Linked DNA regions of Homo sapiens: all the other regions are linked to region 3. The links are contacts of gene promoters, found by promoter capture Hi-C in blood cells and fetal thymus (Javierre and others, 2016). All regions are on one chromosome and are shown on one strand. Each heading gives the region's core, a stretch centred on a gene start or on the middle of the fragment in contact. The rest is flanking DNA. Distances are from core to core; before and after follow the strand shown.

What was found. The method cuts DNA at HindIII sites, captures the fragments that hold promoters and counts their contacts. A CHiCAGO score of 5 or more calls a contact.
Region 1: a fragment that was not itself captured here is called in contact with the fragment with the promoter of RIPK2 in region 3 in 1 of 17 cell types (total B cells); the score reaches 6.3 in total B cells.
Region 2: a contact is called between a fragment that was not itself captured here and the fragment with the promoter of RIPK2 in region 3, in 2 of 17 cell types (activated CD4 T cells and erythroblasts). The highest score is 6.0, in activated CD4 T cells.
Region 4: a contact is called between a fragment that was not itself captured here and the fragment with the promoter of RIPK2 in region 3, in 5 of 17 cell types (erythroblasts, naive B cells, total CD8 T cells and 2 more). The highest score is 7.7, in erythroblasts.
Region 5: a fragment that was not itself captured here is called in contact with the fragment with the promoter of RIPK2 in region 3 in 8 of 17 cell types (total B cells, naive B cells, activated CD4 T cells and 5 more); the score reaches 24.3 in total B cells.

The regions. Positions count from the first base shown.
Region 1 is chr8:90,611,041-90,613,740 of GRCh38, reverse strand. No RefSeq gene overlaps it. Among named protein-coding and RNA genes, the nearest start is that of LINC01030, 6.3 kb to the right of the region's middle. The HindIII fragment of the contact is 3,080 bases long and covers 1-2,700 here.
Region 2 is chr8:90,594,963-90,597,662 of GRCh38, reverse strand. The region is part of intron 1 of LINC01030 (long intergenic non-protein coding RNA 1030); the gene reads left to right. Among named protein-coding and RNA genes, the nearest start is that of LINC01030, 9.8 kb to the left of the region's middle. The HindIII fragment of the contact is 1,347 bases long and covers 759-2,105 here.
Region 3 is chr8:89,756,566-89,759,265 of GRCh38, reverse strand. It overlaps RIPK2 (receptor interacting serine/threonine kinase 2), which reads right to left and starts at 1,450. Exons shown (of 11, transcript NM_003821.6): 1 at 1,033-1,450. The coding sequence starts at 1,205. It overlaps PARAIL (palmitic acid regulated anti-inflammatory lncRNA), which reads left to right and starts at 1,555. Exons shown (of 5, transcript NR_125822.1): 1 at 1,555-2,221. RefSeq lists an enhancer at 975-1,044 and a silencer at 1,585-1,704. The HindIII fragment of the contact is 1,742 bases long and covers 894-2,635 here.
Region 4 is chr8:90,577,650-90,580,349 of GRCh38, reverse strand. No RefSeq gene overlaps it. Among named protein-coding and RNA genes, the nearest start is that of LINC01030, 27 kb to the left of the region's middle. RefSeq lists an enhancer at 6-968. The HindIII fragment of the contact is 215 bases long and covers 1,336-1,550 here.
Region 5 is chr8:90,627,174-90,629,873 of GRCh38, reverse strand. The region is part of intron 2 of TMEM64 (transmembrane protein 64); the gene reads left to right. Among named protein-coding and RNA genes, the nearest start is that of TMEM64, 18 kb to the left of the region's middle. The HindIII fragment of the contact is 1,333 bases long and covers 609-1,941 here.

The DNA.
Region 1 (2,700 bases), core at 132-2,631, 850 kb before region 3:
CTCAAAGTGCTGTGATTACAGATGTGAGCCACTGCACCTGATGTTGGTCTTTTATTAATTCAGTCCATGCAATTCCTGTTTTGCCCAGTATTGGACCAGCAGTCCTCATGAACACACTAGCTCTCTATGACAGTCCTGGAAGTTAATTTTTTTTTCTTTTTCATTTTAATGGCACAGTCTCTACAATTATCAGACACCTGCATCCAAGAGCACCCATTAGCATCTTATAGCTGCTTATAAACCGCCTTTTGAAAAGGATCAAAACAAGACAGTTATCTGTGGAAGACAAAAGTCAGGACAGCCACAGTTAAAGATGCAACTGAAAAGGAAACCTGGTCATTTTTATGGCACATAACCATATAGTAATTATTATTATTTATAACATATACTCAGTCATATCAGAATTATAGGAAAAGTATATAATGTTGGAACACATATTAATAACACATTTATTGACTGCAGCCAAAAAAAAGTTGAATACCATTTTATATTTGACAATGCTCTCTGTATGATTTTAGTATACCAAATAAGTCAAATACGTCTCTTTTGGACTTCAGGGGACCTAATACTTAAAAGTTAATGAGGTCAAAAATATACTTAAGTCAGAATTTGATTTTGGAATGTTTGTCAAATATCTAACGTTTAACACTTGATATCACAAAATAGAATTCTAGGTCATTGTAAGTCATTTATTTAGCCAAAATAATAATTTAAAATTTCAAAAAGGCAAAAATCTTTACTTGTTAATAGAGAGGAGTCTCAACTTGTTAAGACCAATACAGATAGCATGAAGCCAACTGAAACTGTCTTTTCTCTCTCCCCTGTATTTAAATGACAAATAAATTTTTTTTATTTCTCAATGTTATGAAAATCTTATTTAAAAGAGAAAGCCAAATTTTAATTTTGCATTAGTGTATTCTTAATGTTATACTCAATTTTTAATATTTTGTAAATAAATCTGTCCAATTTTAATTAGTTTGACTATGAGGTATAATTTTTATGTCTATTTTTATAATCCTTTCTAATTTTTTATTAAAGGGAATATCAGTGTTCTAAGGAAACTCTGTTATTTAGACAGATGGACCTAGATTCTGGCCCTGCATCAGTGTACTCTTATTTTAATATTTTAATTTATGGAAGAACTAAGTAATATCCTTTTAATTTTGGCCAACTTGCTTATATACAGAATTTTGTTAAAGCCAATTAATTACAGTTCTTTTATGTATTTTGGTAACAAAATATGTTCCCAGCATATATAAATAGACAGAAGCAGATCTGGTGGGGGGATAAGATGATGATGATGATGATTGTTATTATTATTATTATTAATTAAGACAGTGTCTCTGTTGTCCAGGCTAGAGTGCACTAACATAATCATGGCTCACTGCAGCCTTGACCTTCTGAGCTCAAGCAATCCTCCCACCTCAGCCTCCCAAGTAGCTGGGACTACAGGTGCACACCACCCTGCCTGGCTAACTGTGATAAGATTCTTTGTCAGTTTTTAAGTTTTCCTTTTTGACCTCAGACCATTAGTCTCTTGATTATCTGTTCTCTGATCTAAATAATTGTCAGCCAGGCAATTCTAAATTTGTGTTTTTAAATGGATAATTTTTAGGTGAAACAAAATAAAGAACTTATATTTTATTTAAACCAAGGGAAAATGGTGTGGATAAAAGTTTAGTCAAGATGACCAGGAAAAACAGACACGCTTACACGGGGAGATTTTTTTTTTTTTTTTTTTTTGAGACGGAGTCTTGCTCTGTTGCCCAGGCTGGAGTGCAATGGCGTGATCTCAGCTCACTGCAACCTCCACCTTACACAGAGAGACTTTTTAAAGATCTGTTTCTTGATTGGATTATTGGCTTCAGGTTGGAGTCTTTTAGGGAACAGGGTCAGGAAAGCATGCAGTTTTTAGGGTCCAATAAGCAGGCACAGCTGGAAGGCAAAACAGATCCCCAAGATCAAGGATCTCATTTTTACACCAAATCCTGGGGTCTCCAAAAGAGGGAAATACTATAAGACAAGACAGTGCAATCATTCCACAGTGTATCTCATTGAAAGGACATTTCTCCTAGGCCGCTTGGCAACCCAATGCCAATCAGCCTACGCTATAATCACCCCATCTTCCATTCTGTACCTTCTAGGTGTTTACAAGCATGCTTTCCTTATTTCAACATAGAAAGAAAGACGTACAACCCTGTGGTGATCATCGTTCACTGTAAGCAACTGACATCAGCCATTTAAAAAAGTATATCTCTTATCTAGCTATTATACATTAAGGTTAAATTTTCTCATAATGCAAATTAATCCTGGTGCCCCCAAAAGTCAGAGATTAGATACAGTGGAAGGAGGGACAAACAGGAGTAAATGAGAAACAGAATTCAGTTGACTGAGTAGTTTTTACAGAGGGAGAGCAAGAGCCTTAAAACAATATCTGTACCCATATAGTCCAAATTAAATCAATTTTAACTACAGAACTTTCAAAAAAAATCCTTTAAAAAAATTTCTTATTACCAGATTTCAGCAGGAACAAACAGTGGATATTTTCAGCTTTTGAATTTTTTACCAAAGGTAACCTCCCACATAAAATTAATAATCCTTAACTCAGGCTATGACTTAACCACAGACACATGAGGTGTCTCCAAAGAGATGGCAAGTGAGCTTTACAAGATCTAAAATCACCCTAAAGGTAGCTCAGGG
Region 2 (2,700 bases), core at 183-2,682, 840 kb before region 3:
TAGTACCATTAATGAAGAAAGATAAAATAGTTCAGAATTTCTGACACCAAAGGAACAGCTCAGGAGAACCCAATTGGTAATCCGGATTGGCTTAAATGAGATTGTAGTGACGCACGAACACTTACACTCAAATGTTTTCATTGTGTTTAAAATGATTTTTTTTTTCACAATGCATTAATCATGGAAGCTCATCTGAAAGTGTGTGGTTTGTGGTTTTCCAGATGTCTTCTCAATAGAAGTTTCCAGGTAAAGATAAAACATGTTGCAGATAAATCAAAGAGGAAAAATTCATTTCCTCTTGATTGCAATAGCCAGAGAATGTCCACTTACATACATCTGATCTAGTTTAGTGACTTGCTAGGGACTGTTTAGGGAGCTTTGACTATTGGTGATCTGGTCTGAATACCCGATGACATATGAAATACAAGGCAGGGGGAAGCAAAGAAGGTGACTCAGAGCTTGTAAACCTCATAGACCTAATAAAGTGGGCCATTATCAGGGAAAATATTACCAGGAAGACGAGGTGAATGGATGTGCTGTGAGGTGGAGAGGATGTTGAATTCATTGGGGAGCATGGAGATCTGGAGAAACTAGGGAGAGACCCAAGAGGAGAGTTAATGAAAGCAATCGGAAATTCTTGCTTGGAGTCGTGTGCGGAGATTAGGACTGGAGGTTTAGAGTTAGGGTACTCTACTCATAGGTACTCATAGCAGGAAGGGTGAAAGAGACCTACAAGGAAGAAAGGATAAAGATAAGCTTGATAAAAATAGGCCTCATCACATTACCTGGTTAACCACCTTAACAGGAGGAGAAAGTCAAAAGTTGGGCAGCGAAGGAGACAGGCCAGCTGGCCTCCTTGGTGTTCCTAAACCACCAAGCACAACCCTACTGGGGCCTGCACCTTCCATCCTCAGCCTGCAGTGCTCCTCCCACAGGGGTTGAGGTGCTTCCTTTGTGCTCCCGTAATACTCTATGTTTCTGACACTGCATTTACCAGAATATCATACTTATCTGTTTATGTTCTTGTGTCATAAGAACAAAATTCAGTGATATAAAATATTCATTGAATAAATAAACGGAAGAAATGAAATGAGAAAAGATTGTACTTAAGGCCTCATTTCAGAAATCAAGATCTTGGAGTTCTGATAAAGTGGTCTGATGAAATGTTATTTCAAATAAAATATAATTGGACACCCATTTTGTGCCAACCATTCCTGGAATAAAGGTCAGACATTCTTAGACAATGTCAGCAGGACTCTCTGCATCTCTCAGCTCTGGTGATCTAGGTACTGGCTTCTTTTCAAGCAAGCTCTCTCTAAGTGGCAGCAGATCAACATCTACTTCTTCAAAATGATTCTGTCTCTTGGGGTCACTTGCCTGTCAAGGAGGTAGAGCCCCTGGTGGGACTACCCATGGGAGAAGAAGTGAGTTTGTGAAGCAGGGTGTGATATGGGGCAAAAACAAACTTAACAGAAGTCCATTCTAGAAATCATATAAGAGGCCCTCAGGAAGTGGAGGTGAGAGGATGGCTTAAGCCAGAAGTTCTTGGCTGTAGTGTGCTATGCCAATCCGGGGTCCACATTAAGGTTGGCATCAATATGGTGATTTTCTGGGAGCAGAGTCCCATAAGATTGTCTAAGGAGGAGTGAACTGGCCCAGGTTGAAAAAGAGGCAATCAGGTGCTCATAAGTGGCAGCATGATCTGAAACCAATAGTGGAGGACAGCTAGGGAAATGGAGTGAATTCGCTTTTCTCTTCTTCCCTCTTATTGTCAGAATTACAACTGACTATCAGAGAAAAGGATGCTAGGCCTGGAATTGCCTTTGTTGTATGTTTGAGGTTCCACAGATGAAGGAGAGTTTAAGAAGAGAAAAAGATCAGCTGACAGTAAGGCCACTTGTTGGCATTAGAACATTGAGGCTTGGTGATTTTATTTATTTAAACATTGTTCTTCATTTGATATGAAAAAATAAAAATGAGAGTTTCACCTAAACTTTAAAAAGTTCTATAAAGTCCTAAACATATAATGATAATGATATAGTGTGGGCTTTGCAAATAAACTTAGGTCCAAAGCCTACTCTGCCATTTTCTACCTGTGTAAAGCTTAAGCAGGTAACTTAAGCTTTTGTATCATGTTCTCTGCAGTGCTTAACTTAGGGGTTAAATAACAAAATTCATGAAAAGCACTTAGCATATCATATAGCAGGGCATTCAAGGCTAGTGAATACTATTGGTGGTGTTATTGCTTAAAAATTTTTTATTTTGGGAAAATATACATAACATGAAACTTACAATTTTAACTATTTTAAATGTACGGCTAAGAGACAGTAAGTACATTTACATTGTTGTACCATCATCACGATCATCCATCTTCAGAACATTTTTGCATCCCAAATTGAAACCATATACTCGTTAAACAAATCTTTATTTCTCTCTTCCCTGTACCCTGGTAATCACTATACTAACTCTGTCTCTGTGAATTTGCCTATTCTAAGTACCTCATGTAAATGGAATCATACAATATTTGTCCTTTTGTGTCTAGCTTACTAAGATTTTTTTTGGTAGCAAAGGCTGAGTGAATCCGGACTGGTTAGTCATTGGTTGCCGGGCTTTCTGTACTGCATGGGTCCCAATCCATAAACTTAAATTCTATCATCTTCGTGATAATATCTACTAATTACAGGCATAATGTTCCTAGGA
Region 3 (2,700 bases), core at 201-2,700:
GTCTATGGCACGCGGTTGTAATGTTCTTCTGAAAACAGAAACTAATGCTAACCTTCCCTTAAAACCTGTACAAACCAATAAGTGAAAGCCATTTACAATTTCTGGCCATTTAACAGTCTTTTGGTTCAATTTATTGTGGCAAAAATAGCACACATTTCCTCTACTTAATCTTCCCTGTGAGAGAAACTGAGACTGGGAGAAACTGAACTGCTAGTATTGAGTTTGATATAAAACGTTCCTGACAACACATAATAAACCAAAACCAAAATAAAAACAATAAGAAGCAAAACATCCTTGATTCTAAAGCAGTGCGGTCCAATAAACATATAATGTGAACACCACCACATACAATTTAAAATTTTCTCGTGGCCACATAAAGTAAAAAGAAACACATAAAATGAATTTTAATCTTATATTTAACCCAAGATATCAAAAATGTTATTTCAGCATATAATCAATAAACAAATAATAAAATATTATAAGTTCTTTTTTTAATAAATACTAAGCATTCGAACTCTGGTATTTTACACTTAGGTCACACTTCAATTCGGACGGGCACATTTCAAGTGCTCAATAGCCACCTGTGGCTAAGAGCTACCTACTGGACAGTGCAGCCCTACAGCCCAATTTCAAAAATAAGGAAAAAACAAAGCAAACAAAACCCACACCCACTATATATAAACACACATCAATTTCAGTAAACCCAGCGTTTAGAGTTAGGCAGTGATTGCTGATTTTTGGAGTACGGAGCCAGAACGCCTAGGAGTAAGAGGGAAGGAGAGAAAGGGTAATGGAGAGATGTGTGGAGGAATGCAACTGCTGCATCTCCAGAGAAGCCTGTGCTCCCTACGGTGCCAGAGCTTGAAGGGTGGGTGCTCCCTATCTCCCAAGCTTGAAGGGCTCCCTAGAGGTGACGAGGTGAGGCCGGCCCCAAGCGGTCACTGCCATTTGGGCTCTAGAGCCCGCTTGTCAGGGGGCTTGAGGGGATGCAGGAGTTGAGGGCTCTTCCAGGGAACCCCAGTGACTGCCTACCTGTCGAGCAGCGGAGTGTGGATGTGCAGGTGCTTCACGGCCACCTGGACGCGCCAGTCTGCGTGGCGGGCGGACGACACAGTGCCAGAGGCGCCGCGGCTCAGGTAGCGCAGGTCGGCGAGTTTGTGGTAGGGAATGGTGGGCAGGGCGCTGCAGATGGCCTCCCCGTTCATGGTCCCGGGCGCTCAGGCCGGTTCCGGGTGTGCCCCCTGCTGCGGCGGCTCCCAAGGCTCCCACGCCGCGCTCAGGCGCCCAGATACGCCCCTGCACGAGCGAGGCCGGCAAGACCCTTTTTGCCCCGCAACACTAGGTCACGAGGGCGCCCATTCCCCGGATGGCCCACGCCAGCCGCTGCTTCTCCGAACCAGAGCTGACTTCTTTTCTAGAGACTGGTGCCAACGCCGTAGCGCCGCGAAAGAGCTTCCTCTCTCGCAGCCCCGGCCCTCCCCCCGGCGCGCGCAGCGACCAGCTCCGGCCGCCCGAGCTCCTCCCTCCCCAAACTTCGCAGGTTACGTCAGCGGCGGACGGCAAGGCGGGGAGAGGGGCAGCCCGCTCGCGGCCCTCCCGCCTGGCTCTCGCCTCGGCCTGCGGCCGGGATCCTCCGCCCGGGTCGCGCAGCGGAGGCCGAGGGCTGGGACGGGCGGCTGGGAAGTGGGAAAGGGAGCTCCTTTTGTCTTCTCTTCCCATCCCCCAGGTTTGGGAAAGTTTTCCTTTTGGGAAAGCCCCTCTCTTCAGCCTGCTGGCGGGTGTCGGATTGGTTAGCGACCACCGGCCCCCGCCTCCCCCAACAGGATTCTCCTTTGGGCCACAGGTCTTCCGGAAGTTGCCAAACCCCGGTAGCGGCAGCGTCCGGCTGGGGGCTTTATTAGGGGGCACCGGGGTCTGCTTTCCGACTCCCTTCCGACTCCGCGCCTGCGCAGGAAGCGATTTGGGGAGTGTTGTGAATTCCGAGGGCTCCACACTTAAGAGGTTGTACACTCACCTGTCTACCTGGACTCCAATTTCCATATTTCCAGCCACTTGAGGACTGAGAGGTGGATGATAAACCCTGTCATAGTGGAGCAAGTTCAGGTGTTTAACCGCTGTTATGGGGGATCTGCCTTTTCTCCCTCTTCTTTCTTACTTCCATAAGTATGTATGTGCAGAGATTGAAAAATAACCTTGAGAGAGTCCATCCATCTAACTCCAGGTAAGACTGCAAATATTTCTTTCTTATAAATCTGGGAGGAATGCAGTCAGTGTTTCATGCCAACCAAAAAAGACTGCAAACGTTTTTCCATCCTTCTGCCTTGAATACCTTTCTACTTAGATGACTATTTTGTAAGACGTGAGTGCAAATGTTATATACAATACCAACTCCATACTAGATGTTTAATTAATTCTAGGGATTCAGTAATAAGGAATGACTCGAACAGATTTCTGCCTACAGACAGCTAATGCTTCTTGTATTTTTGCATTACCTGAAATGAAAGTAGCAATGTTAGATTTTACAGTAGTGGGAGGTTGTAAACAATAGTATGTTAAACATTTTTGATCATTTATAATAAAATGTTCAGCACTAAACATATGGTCTGATACTCTGTGCTTTATTGCTTAATAAGCTTTTTTTTTTCTTTTCGAGAGGGAGTCGTGCTCTGTCACCCAGGCTGGAGTGTAGTGGCGCGATCT
Region 4 (2,700 bases), core at 194-2,693, 820 kb before region 3:
CTTATGCAGCTATTTCAGCAGTTTCCTTTTGCTTAGTCATGTGAAACTGCTGCCTGGAATTTTCTTTTCTCCTGTGACCACCCTGTATTATTCCTGCCTCAGTCAGAACAGCCATAGGAAACCAATGCACTCATATTTTGAACTTTAAATAGAATGAGGCTAAGATATCTGAAATGTTATCATTTTTTTCTTTTTCATCAAGACAATTTCAGGAAATAATAACTCCTTCACAGCATTTCACTCAGTTTTACTAATAAGTGGCTGAGTAATTGTCACTGGCAGCCCAGTAATGGATCTTAAAATAATACACAACTCTTCTTTTGAGGAAATGTGTGAGTTAACATGGGTCACAAACTTTGTCTTTTAATATTCTTTCCTCAGTTGACATAATGCAGTGGGTGTCCTACGTTTGCAAGAAACGGCAGGGGGAGTTCTTGAGTGTCCTTGAGAATAACCCACTGACCTCTTAGTGCTGAGGCTCAGGCTGCAGACCACAAATTTATCTACTTGTGTGCATTTCCTATTACTCTCTTCTGTACACCAGGTCTCTATTAGCTGCTTATTTCTAGCATCTGGGCCAAATTGTAAGTCTGGGAAAATGCTGAATAGCCCTTCGCAAAAGTGAAGCAGAGGAAAGGTTATCAAAGAATGTCAAATAAATGTGCATACTAATTACCAGTCTCTTTGGTTTTTATTATGTAAACCAGTTGGAATGTTATCCCTGCTCCCCCGCTATCCCCCATCATACCTTCTTGTGTCTTTTAGGAATTTATATTCAAAACCTCTATTCCAATTAGACTTCACAAAAGACCTTTGGATTCAGCTACTTTCCTTTTCAGATTTCATTCTCAGGAGAGTGTAGTTAATGATAGCAGATCAGCAAGTGGATATTTTAGAGAGGTTCTTAGGCTTTGACCCAGTTCTGCTGCTGCTCAGATTTCTGAGTCCTACCTGGTACTTAGCCAAAAGTACCTCAAAACCACCTTCCACTTAGCCATGGTGATCTCAGGGCTCCATGGTGCTGGTTTATCTTAGGCTAGTACCTTACTGATGAATACACTCTGAAAAAGGAAACACAAAGATGTCTTCCAGCCTTATTTAAAATGACTTGTTGCAAGATGCCACTTTGTTCTTTGTGGCAAGTGATCCTAGTTTAAGAACATCAGTTTTCCAATTTGACTAGGAGTTATTTGTTGGAATGCAGAAATTAATGATTGAAAATTTTTTCTTCAATAATGTTTATGTGAAGATTTGCTGTTGCCTCAAACTTCCTAATAAAGACATTTGGGACAAATGGAATTTTGTCCATATTTGAACCTGCTATCAGTTAAAGCTTTAGAGTTCGTATACATTTGGGTGTTGTTTTTATGGTGCAAGTTGAAAAGCAGTTACTGACTGTAGAGCTAAACTTGAAGTTGCCTGCTCTCCGTGGGTGGTGAGTCCTTTTCATAATTCATTGTGTACACACTTCAAGTCTCAGTGGAAATCTAGGAATACTAAGAAGTAAAAGACAAGATGCTTGGCTAGCAGGTCGAGTATTTGGGTAAGCTTAGCTAGGTTACAGGGAGCACTGGCTAGAAAGAAGGGTTCAATTCTGAGAAGAAACTAAAAATACAAAGAAAAGAGGGGGACAGAGACACAAGTTCAGATGAGGCAGGAGGGCTCAAGGAAGGTTAAATTTGTGACAGAGGAGGGGTACAGTCATGGAATTAGAAGAGAAAGGGAAAAGGTGGGATTAAGTGTTGATTTGCTAGCTTTTGAAATGAGAGTTGAGGGATTTCAGAGGGTATCTATTTCAGTGAGGAAAATACAAATGAGGTTCGAATTTGAAGAGGGGAAATTTCAATACAGTATTTGTGAATAATATGGCAGAAAGTCAATATTTAATGAATGAAAATGTTGTGGATCAGAATGAGAGCCAGGGTGAGGCTGCATATCACAAGTCTGTAATAAAACAATCCGTTAGGCCATAGTGTCCAAATCCAGGTTTCCACACCCTTGGGTCTGTGGACCTTGTGCCTAGGATACATGTGACCATGGAACATAACACATCTTCCTCTAGTGTCAATTTTACTTGGAACATTTGCAGTGAAATTGCAATTGCTTAGATCAATATTTTAAAAATCATTTTAATATAGAAGGATAGGATGAAAATCAGGTTTGTTAAATTTTTAAGGTAAATGAGAAACTTCAAACAAATACTGTAGTAAGCCTTTTTTTTGTTCTTTTCTGTTTTTCTTTGCTTTTTTAGAGATGGGGACAGGGAATCACTCTGTCACACAGGCTGGAGTGTAACGGTACAATCATAGCTCACTGTGACCTTTAACTCCTGGGCTCTAGCAATCTTTCCACTTCAGATTAATCAGTAGCTGGGCCTACAGGCGCACACATCACTACACCCAGCTAGGTTTTTTTGCTTTATTTTTAGTAGAGACAAGGTCTTACTATGTTGCTGATGTGATTGGACTGTGCCCCTATCCAAATCTCACCTTGAATTATAATGATCCCCACGTGTCAAGGGCAGGGCCAGGTAGGAGATAATTGAATCATGGGAGTGGTTTCCCCTATTCTGTTCTCATGGTAGTGAATAAGTCTTATGAGATCTAATGGGTTTATAAATGAGAGTTCCCTGCACAAGCTCTCTTGCCTGCTGCCATGTAAGATGTGACTTTGCTCCTCATTTGCCTTCCACCATGATTG
Region 5 (2,700 bases), core at 26-2,525, 870 kb before region 3:
GTAAAACCATGAATATTTACATTGAAATATTGCCTAAATAAAGCTTATCAATAAGAGTACTTGCTTTAAGAAAAATTTTGTAATATTTTTGACATGCAAAGAGTCAGTTTTTATTTTTCTTTACTTTTTTTCCCCAGAGCTATATTTTCTTCAGATAATCTGAATCTAAGTTAAATGTTTTTGTTACAGTTGGTTTATTTATATAATACAGCATGCTAATCATATAAAGTTAAACTTTCTATGCATTATATCTATAGCACAGTATATAAATTAACATTTATGATTGTCCCAAAGAACTGTAAAATTATCTAATATGTATTGCATTCTCAGATTTTTTTAGTATGAAGTTAAGCATTTTTTTTGTAGTTTCCTGAAAATAAGTAATCTATTTGTAACATTTTTTTCCCTTTGACTTTACATTTGAGTAATTAGAATCCCTCATTGTTAGTAGCTTAGAGAGAACTTTTACTATTTGAAACTTTATATTTTTATGCATCTTAGTAAATTACTCAACTATAGTCAATGAAGTTCATGATGCTTTTTAAACTATAGAATCTTCTTTTATTCAGTGATTTCTCACCCTTTGGCTAAGCTGGAAAATTTAAGCTTAGAATACAAGACAGTGGGGAAAGCACATATTTCTTAGCCTAGGGATTTATGAAAAGAAGTGAAGACATGTTTACGCTTGTTTGATTTAATTGATATTAGTTACAGCTTAATTTGTATCAGGAGGCATTTAATGCAGCTTACAAAATATATACAAAAGGAAAAAAAGAGAGCTTAGGTTAAAGCTAGCAGAATAAGTATATTCATGAGATTCCTCTTATTTTCTAGAAACGAGCCACAAATTTGCCTCTGAGTTTTATGGCTGTCAGCCTAAAATAAAGCAATACAAAATAACTGTTCATAGGAAGCCACAACCATTTCTTGTACAGTTTGATTATCCCTTATCTGAAATGCTTGCAGCCAGAAATGTTTTAGATTTTGAATTTCCTCAGATTTCAGTATATTTACATTGTGCTTACCTGTTGAGTATCCCTAATCCAAATGTCTGGAATCTAAAGTGTTCGAATGAGCATTTTCTTTGAGTGTCTTGTTAGTGCTCAAAAACTTCGGGTTGGAGCCTTTGAGGTTTGGAATTTCTGGGTTAGGAATGCTCAAACTGTACTGAAATCCAGCTTAGATTCTGTGGTCTATTTAGTTACTCTTCCATGCCTGTTATTTTTCTATGTATCTACTAACCAAAACCCCAAACCTGAATACATCCAAGTTTTATCTGCTTTGCCCCTATTCTTTTGGGGAAGTCATGTAACCAGACACATTGATATTTAACTCATGGTTGCAAATCTTCACCTAGTTTCTCGACACTGCCCCACATCCCATCTCTCTCCTTTGTCTTCTCACTCCCCTGCTGTTGTCTTGAAATAGTTAATTATTTTAAACTATCTTCACTTCTCCTCACAATTTTGACTCCTTCGCCTGTTTCCATCTTTATTGTCAGCAGATTACCTCTCTTGCTTAACAGAAAAATCAGAAGCCTTCAACTGAGAAACCCCTGAATTTGCATATAAGAAATCTGTTAACTTCTTATGTTCCTGCCCCTGCTTAGCTTGCTTTCCAGTTAGCATTAAGAGATGCCTGTCTTTCTGTATGAGGCTTGACCTTCTGCCTGTGTTTGATTCTTTGATTTCATTTTAATAAGGAAACTTTTAAAACAATTGTCTGTACTATCTATTTCCATTTTCTAAACCCTTTTTAACACTTCACTCAGCTAAGGAAGATGGGGAAGGTGTGTTGGGGGACAGTACAAATCGTCAGGCCCTGGGATCAGAAGTGCAGCTGGGAAAGTCCCACTTAAAGATGTAACCATTTCACCCTTGCTATCTGTGGCCCTGCCACTTCCTTCCCTCAAACTGCTCTTCTTAGGGCTGTCAGTAAGCTTGTCTAAATGAGATGTACTTTCCATTTCTCATCTAGCTTGACCTGTTAGTAGTCTAAGACTCCTGACAGTGCCTTCATTATTAAAACACTCTTTCCTTAGTTTCTTTGATACCACTGTCTTAACTTTTTTTTTCCACTTGCCTAGCTTATGCTTAACTTCTTCCTTTCACCCCTTATATCTGTGTTTTTGAAGATCCTAGCTTAAGTTTTCTAGTCCTACTCTGAAAACTTTTTTACAGCAAATCCAGTTACTCTGATGGTTGCTAATATGTGTATTTGGGTCAAGACCCTCCGCCTGCCCTCATCCTACTCCCCAGCACTTGTCTTTAGCTCAGCCCTCTTTCCATAGCTTCAGACCCCTTCACTGACATCCATGAACTTTTTTGGATATCTAAGAGGCACCTCGAATTCAGCATGTCTTAAACAGAAGGTAGCATCTAATTCACAAAGCACCCGCCCCCGCCCCCATATTTTTTTCATCTCTTTACATGGTGTTTCCATTTGTTGATACATAGCAAACTTAGGAGTTTTCGGTAAATATATCTTGTTTCTTTTAAGAGAAGTAACAGAAAACAGTTACAGAATTTAAAGACCCAGCTTTAAGATGCCTAACTTATTTACGATTTTACTGAGTGATGGGTACTCATTTAATGGCACCCCCTTGTGCAAGTTCCAAGTTCCTCCCCTCTCACACTTACCATACCCCCAGTATGCTCTGCTTCTGTTATCTCCTCCCCCAACCACCCTCAGCACTTGGAT